Linked DNA regions of Homo sapiens: region 2 is linked to region 1. Evidence: promoter capture Hi-C in human tissues and cell types (Jung and others, 2019). All regions are on one chromosome and are shown on one strand. Each heading gives the region's core, a stretch centred on a gene start or on the middle of the fragment in contact. The rest is flanking DNA. Distances are from core to core; before and after follow the strand shown. Region 1 holds the start of LRRC57 (leucine rich repeat containing 57). Region 2 overlaps INO80 (INO80 complex ATPase subunit).

Region 1 (3,827 bases), core at 1,241-3,740:
AGAAGAAAAAGGCTGGGTTCAGCTCCCAGTACTTTGGGAGGCCGAGACAGGCAGATCACCTGAGATCAGGAGTTTGAGACTACCCTGGCCAAAATGGTGAAACCCCGTCTCTACTGAAAATATGAAAATTAGCAGGTGTGATGGCAGGTGCCTGTAGTCCCAGCTACTCGGGAGCACGAGAATTGATTGAACCCAGGTGGCAGAGGGTACAGTGAGCCAAGATCACACCACTGCACTCCAGCCTGGGCAACAGAGGGAGACTATGTCTCAGAAAAAAAAAAAAAAGAAAAGAAAAGAAAAAGAAAATACAGGAGAGGGCCGGGTGCAGTGGCTCACGCCTGTAATCCCAGCACTTTGGGAGGCAGAGGCAGGCAGATCACGAGGTCAGGAGATCGAGACCATCCTGGCTAACATGGTGAAACCCCATTTCTACTAAAAATACAAAAATTAGCCGGGTGAGGTGGTGAGCACCTGTAGTCCCAGCTACTCATGAGGCTGAGGCAGGAGAATGGCATGAACCCAGGAGGTGGAGCTTGCAGTGAGCCAAGACTGTGCCACTGCACTCCAGCCTGGGCAACAGAGCGAGACTCCGTCTCAAAAAAAAAAGAAAACACAGGAGAGAAGGGAGGAAGGATTACACTGTAGAGTGCTGTGGTCACTCCTGGTAAAGTTAGTCAACTAGGACCACCTGAATCTCCCCATCACCCAGACAATGGGTGTTCAACAAAAGCTTAAAATCTTTTAATACAGTATCACAGCCTCTTATAACAGTTCATCTTGAGAGGGGATACAATGTGTCAAAAGGGAGAGTACTAAGATCTAATTCTCCTTTAACAGTCTAGTGACCATGGGCAAGTTTCTTGGTCTAAGCCTTAGTTTCTTAAATTAAAAAATACTGTAAGGTATTAGAGTCTCTAATGGCTCTTCTGACTATAAAAAGTTATGTATTTTCCGTAAATCTTCCATCATGTTTGTAGTGCTTTTTTTTTTTTTTTTTTCCCTGAGACAGGGTCTCACTCTGTCGCCCAGGCTAAGTGCAGTGGCCCGATCGCATCTCACTGCAACCTCCATCTCTTAAGCTCAAGCCATCTTCCCATCTGAGCCTCCAGGACCCATGTGGTCCGCGGAGTAGTTGGGACTACAGGTGTACGCCACCATGCCGGCTAATATGTGCTGATTTTTACAGATCAGTTTAACTTTTCTGTTTTCTTTTTAGTGAAATTTCTCAACTTCCTCTATATATCAAAATTTATTTCCCCATTTTTCTCAATGCCCTTGATCCCACTTGCCCCATGCCCTCCTGTCACTGCATTCCATTATTTCCTCACATGTTCAATTTCTCCCTCTGTTGGCTCCTTCCTCCGACATGCTCCTCTTGCCCAACCTAAAACTGCCACTCCGTGACTCCTTGGGTTAATGTCTCTTTTCTCTCCTTCTCAAAATTAATCTCTTCCTCCATTCACGTTCCAAGGTCTTATCTTTTTAGCCAATACTTTTTTTTTTTTTTTTTTTTTTTTGCCTTTAAAGATGCCAAGGCCGGGCGCGGTGGCTCACGCCTGTAATCCCAGCACTTTGGGAGGCCGAGGCGGGTGGATCACGAGGTCAGGAGATCGGGACCATCCTGGCTTACAAGGTGAAACCCCGTCTCTACTAAACATACAAAAAAAAATTAGCTGGGTGTGGTGGTGGGCGCCTGTAGTCCCAGCTACTCCAGAGGCTGAGGCAGGAGAATCGCTTGAACCAGGAAGGCGGAGGTTGCAGTGAGCCGAGACCACGCCACTGCACTCCAGCCTGGGCGTTAGAGCGAGACTCTGTCTCATATAAATAAATAAATAAATAATAAAATAAAATAAAAATGTCAAAAAAGAGCTTCTGGCGCTCTTCTCTACCCAGCACCTCCCGCCCCAAATACGATTCAACACTTCCCACAAACGAGGGTTGTTGGAAATGCTTGTTCCGCAAGGGGACAGAACGACCCGTATTTCCCATCCCCGCCCTTACACTACAGTCTAGAGGCAGTATCACTGGATGAAAAAAAGGCTGGTAACAGTCTAATCTCCCACAAACTGGACTGGGACAAATTTACCCTACAGACACTCAAAACACAGTCTACCCTAAACACCATCTACTCAGATCCCCGCTTTCCAAGCATCCACGGCAGAACGTTCGCGGCTGTTGCCTGGAAGGGGCTCTTATTACTCTAGTACAGACCCCAACCAGGACCCTCACCACTCCCACAGCCAGCAGCACCAACTCACAGCCATATTGTTGCCACCTTGGGCACCCCCTTGATGACACCACCGCCACCCCCACGTACCTGATTGACCATCCCCGAAGCTATGAAGTGGCCTAGCACTAGCCCAGCGCCGTTAGGCGCGGACGCCGGGTCCCACGGGTTGGCAGCGGCCATGGCTCGGACGCACCTTCCGCGAAGGCGCCAAGAGTGAGCGGGATCGCAGGGCGAACGCACGGCGCGGCTCGATGACGTCACAGGGCGTTCCCGCCCGGGACTAAGCCGGGGAGCGCATCCCGGCTACTGCGGGTCCTGGGTCTTCACCTGCGGAGCCTTACGGCAGCTGAGCGGTGGGAGGCGAGTCCGGGGCTCCCTGATCTTCCGTAGGCTCCCAGAGGCGCCTGGCCTCCGCAGAGCTGCAAAGGCGGCAGGGCTTGGTGGTCGGGCTGTGTGTTCTTCCGTTTCTTCCTTGTCGCTCTTGGGTCGGGCCCCAGGAGCCAGGGATCGGCGGGAGTTGAGAGCTGGGGCAGGAGCCCCAGCCGGGAGGCCGACCGGGTGGACTGGGCGGTGACAGCAGCGCTTCCTTCCCGCAGGGACCTGAGCCGCGGCGCTAGGATGGGAAACAGTGCGCTCCGCGCTCATGTGGAAACGGCGCAGAAAACTGGTGTCTTTCAGCTTAAGGACCGAGGGCTGACCGAGGTGAGACTGGGAGGGACACGACCAGGGAACTTAAAGGGAGAGGGACGGCGGGGGCGGCGAACTTAGTCGGTGCGGGATTCCCCACGCTGTGAACTCCTTTCTCCAGTTCCCCGCAGACTTGCAGAAGCTGACGAGCAATCTCAGGACCATCGACTTGTCCAACAACAAGATCGAAAGCCTACCGCCTTTGCTGATAGGAAAGTTCACTCTGCTGAAGAGCCTCTCCCTGAACAACAACAAACTGAGTATGGCTCTCGCCAGGGAGGCTTTTGCTAGTGATCAGCTGTTACCAGGGGTGGTTTTCTCTTACAAGCTGATTTTTGTTTTTGTTATGAAACCGTGCAGGAGGGCTCAAGTTGCGAATGCCGGAATCCTTGAAGCCTTCTTTCTACTTCTTGTAATTACATCTAAAATAAGCCTTATAATGATTGGGTGTTATAATGATTGTTACTGGGTTAATTTGGACTTGAAAGAGAAGAACATTTTGGGGATGTAATGTAAACAAAGCTACCTAACTTGGAATGGGGGATGGATGAGAAGGGGAGGATCTTCCAAATATCACAAAATTGCTGTCGGATTGTGCCTTGGGCCCCTTTACAAAAGGAGCCCATTATACACACAAATGCTCTCCGGCATTTTGATGGCACCCTCACCTTCTAAAGACTATGTTGGTAAAATGCAATATCTAAAAATGGCACATGTGGGAGTTTTACATATATTAACAAGAGGCGAAGCAGGCTGCCATATAGTCTTTATAAACTTCATCAAAGTTGTTTTCAGCTCTATCACATTCAGGTTTTAAAAAAATTTTTCTTTGCCAGCTGTTCTGCCTGATGAGATATGCAATCTGAAAAAACTAGAGACGCTAAGCCTAAACAACAATCACCTTAGAGAG
Region 2 (4,036 bases), core at 428-2,927, 1.4 Mb after region 1:
ATGAGCCACTGCGCCTGGCCTAATATGCCCTTTTTAAAATCCTGAAATGAAATCTATAGGTAATATATAATTTTAAAAAGCAGTATGATGCCCTAATTGTAATATATTGGGGAAACATAAATAAAGTAACTTACACAGTATGTACTTTAAAATGCAAATGCATGGGCATGAACCCATAATAAGTGACATAAGACATAGTCGTATCTTCTTTTTTTGAGATGGAGTCTTGCTTTGTTGCCCAGGCTGGAGTTCAGTGGCACAGTCTTGGCTCACTGCAACCTCCACCTCCCAGGTTCAAGCGATTCTCCTGCCTCAGCCTCCTGAGTAGCTGGGACTACAGGTGCGTGCCACCAAGCCCAGCTACTTTTTTGTATTTTTAGTAAAGGCGGGATTTCACTGTGTTAGCCAGGTTGGTCTCGAATTCCTGACCTTGTAATCTGCTCGTCTCAGCCTCCCAAAGTGCTGGGATTACAGGCATGAGCCACCATGCCCGCCAAGAAATAGTCATATCTTTTGTACTAGTATGGAGAATCACCTTGACTAAGAGTTACAAATAGGCCGGGTGCGGTGGCTCACGCCTGTAATCCCAGCACTTTGGGAGGCCGAGGTGGGTGGATCACGAGGTCAGGAGATCGAGATCATCCTGGCTAACACAGTGAAACCCCGTCTCTACTAAAATACAAAAAAACTTAGCCAGGCGTTGTGGCGGGCGCCTGCAGTCCCAGCTACTCGGGAGGCTGAGGCAGGAGAATGGCTTGAACCTGGGAGGCGGAGCTTGCAGTGAGCAGAGATCTCGCCACTGCACTCCAGCCTGGGTGACAGAGCAAGACTCTGTCTCAAAAAAAAAAAAAAAAGTTACAAATAAAGTCTGTTTGTGTTGGTGACTCAAATATCACAGCAAGTAAGAGGAAACTATTGAGCTAAGGTGAAATAAAAGAGGATGGAATGATTTGCTCTTCAGGCTCTTCCAAGATGAGCGGGGAATGACTTCAGCATTTTGAGGAAGAGGGAAAAAAGATTTGAAGTAATCTTGGTAGAGAATGAGAAACAATTGGTAGAAGGTGGGTAAAAGGGTTATTGAGAATTATCAAGTGTTTTGCTGAAGTTGGACGATAACAGATGGGTCAGGTTGATGGCCATGCAGTTTCCTTGTAGGGAATAAGAGACAAATGAGGAGATGAAAGTGGTTATTGCAGCAGCAGCTTTTAACATGCTAATCAAGACTAGGCTGAATTGAGAGGCCAGCAATCTTAAAAGGTGATTAAGAAATGATTGTCAGCCGGGTGGGTGGCTCATGCCTATAATCCCACTACTTTGGGAGGCTGAGGTGGGTGGATCACTTGATGCCAGGCGTTTGAGACCAGCCTGGCCAACATGGTAAAACTCCATCTCTACTAAAAATACAAAAATTAGCTGTGTGTGGTGGGGTGCGCCTGTAGTCCCAGCTACTTGGGAGGCTGGAGGTGAGAGAATCACTTGAACCCAGGAGGCGGAGATTGTAGTGAGCGGAGATCACCCCATTGTGCTCCAGCCTGGGCGACAGAGGGAGCCTCTGTCTCAAAAAAAAAAAAAAAAGAAAAAATTGTGAATGGTAGTAATGGTTGCACAACAATGTGAATGTATATAATGCCACTGAAGTGTACACTTAAAAATGGTTAAAATGGTAAGTTTTATGTCTTTTGCCACCATAAAGAAAAAAATTGAACACTTAAAAAATATAACTTGGTTCTCCAGATGTCATCATAGGACTTCTTGTGGAGAATTTTGTGCTTACAGCACCTTTTTTTGGTGGTATTGTGGACATAAGGGAATTCATTGCAGCTGTCATTTCAGCCATCAGTGGTGATATGCTGCAAAGATGATTTCTGGGATGAATCAGTTGACAGGACTGATGTATACTGGGTGTCAAAAGGGAGCATATATTGAGGATTGTAAGACTAGAAGTTAACTGTGATCTTTCTTCAACAAATTGTTTTTGATTTCATACTCACATAGGTACTGAGGAATAAGTTTTGAAAATATTCCATTCATTGGCCGGGCACAGTGGCTCACACCTGTAATCCCAGCACTTTGGGAGGCCGAGGCGGGCGAATCACGAGGTCAGGAGATCGAGACCATCCTGGCTAACACAGTGAAACCCCGTCTGTACTAAAAATACAAAAAGTTAGCCTGGCGTGGTGGCAGGCGCCTGTAGTCCCAGCTACTCGGGAGGCTGAGGCAGGAGAATGGCGTGAACCTGGGAGGCAGAGCTTGCAGTGAGCCGAGATTGGGCCACAGCATTCCAGCCTCGGCTACAAGACTTTGTCTCAAAAAAAAAAGAAAAGAAAATATTCCATTCATTTCGAATCACTCCGTATTACTTGGTAGTCATACCTCCTTAATTAGTGTCATTTTCCTTATCAGGTAAAATAACTAGAGCATGGATTAATTGTTCTGTAATAAAAGCTTGGGATGGAGCCAAGCAGAGTAGTTTTACATTTATACATGTATCAAGATGAATTATTTGCTGTTCTCTTAAGGGAGTTTTGTTGTATTTTAAAAACCAATTTCTTTGAAATCTTCTGGAGTGGGTGGGTACACGTTAGGTCTCATTTTGAAAAGGTGAAATTTAAAGTTTTTTTTTTTTTGGATAGTCTCACTCTGTTATGCAGGCTGGAGTACAGTGGTGCGTTCATGACTTACTGAGGTCTCAACCTCCTGGGCTCAAACCATCCTCCCTCCTCAGCCTCCCAAGTGGCTGGGTTTACAGGTGCATGCCACTACACTCAGCTAATTTTTAAATTTTTTTGTAGAGACAAGGTCTCGCCATGTTACTCAGGCTGGTCTTGAACTCTTGGGCTCAAGCTCTCCTCCTGCCTCACCTCCCAAAGTGCTGGGATTACAAGCTTCAGCCACTGCTCCTGGCCAAAAGTATTTTTTAGCATTCTTTTTTCTTTATATTACCAAGACTGACAATTTACAAACTATGAAATTCACATAATTTAAATAAAATATACAGTTCAGTATATTTTGAATATATTTTTGGTAGATTTACAGAATTGTGGAACTATCGCCACAATGGGAGTTTGGAACATTTTTTTTTTCCCTTTTTCTTTCCCTCTCTCTCACTCTCTTGTTGTGTGTGTGTGTGTGTGTTTGTTTTTTTTTTTTTTTTTTTTTTTTTTTTTTGAGACAGGGTCTTACTCCAGGCTGGAGCACAGTGGCACAATGATAGCTCACTGCAGCCTTGACTTCCTGGGCTTAAGCAATCCTCTCACCTCAGCCTCTTGAGTAGCTGGCACTACAGGCACGCATCACCATACTTGGCTAATTTTTAAATTTTTTGTAGGGACACGGTCCTGCTATGTTGCCCAGGCTGGTCTCAAACTCCTGGGCTCAAGGGATCCACCCACTTCAGCCTCCTAAATGTTGAGATTATAGGTGAGAGCCACTGTGTCTAGCCTGTCTTTTTTATTATTCTAGTGGGTATGAAGTAGTATGGTGCTTTAATTTTAATTTATTAATATTTAGCATTTTTTCATGTGTCTATTAGCTAGTCATACATCTTTGTTGGTAAAATGTTCAAAATCTTTTGCTCATTTTTAAATTGGGTTATTTATCTTATAGAGTTGTAGGTTTTATGTGTACACACTGACAAACAACTGTGTAAAAAAAAAGTTGTATATGTGGATACAAGACCTTTATCAGATAGATGATTTGCAAGTATCTTCTAGTCTGTGGCTTGTCTTCATTTTCTTTTTCTTTTTTTTGTCACCCAGGCTGGAGTACAGTTGCAAGATCATGGCTCACTGTAGCCTCAACCTCCTGGGCTGTAAGTGATCCTCCCACTTCAGCCTCCCGAATAGTTTGTCCAGAGGCCTGTGCCACCATGCCCAGCTAATTTTAAATTCTTTTGAAGAGATGAGATCTCACTGTGTTGCCCAGGTTGATCTTGTTTTCCTGGGCTGAAGTGATCCTCCCACTTCAGTCTCCCAGAGTGCTGGGATTACAGGCATGAGCCACTGTGCCTAGTTTGTCTTCATTTTCTTAATGATAT

What was found. The method cuts DNA at HindIII sites, captures the fragments that hold promoters and counts their contacts. A contact is called where the count stands out against the background at its distance.
Region 2: a contact is called between a fragment that was not itself captured here and the fragment with the promoter of LRRC57 in region 1, in 1 of the 25 tissues and cell types used here (aorta).

What each region holds. Positions count from the first base shown.
Region 1 is chr15:42,547,456-42,551,282 of GRCh38, reverse strand. LRRC57 (leucine rich repeat containing 57) reads left to right here and starts at 2,490. Exons shown (of 6, transcript NM_153260.3): 1 at 2,490-2,590; 2 at 2,827-2,932; 3 at 3,039-3,177; 4 at 3,754-3,827. The coding sequence starts at 2,849. It overlaps HAUS2 (HAUS augmin like complex subunit 2), which reads right to left and starts at 2,445. Exons shown (of 6, transcript NM_018097.3): 1 at 2,318-2,445. The coding sequence starts at 2,410. RefSeq lists an enhancer at 2,185-2,654. The HindIII fragment of the contact is 5,139 bases long and covers 1-3,827 here.
Region 2 is chr15:41,098,370-41,102,405 of GRCh38, reverse strand. All of the region lies in intron 1 of INO80 (INO80 complex ATPase subunit), which reads left to right. Among named protein-coding and RNA genes, the nearest start is that of INO80, 16 kb to the left of the region's middle. The HindIII fragment of the contact is 3,775 bases long and covers 1-3,564 here.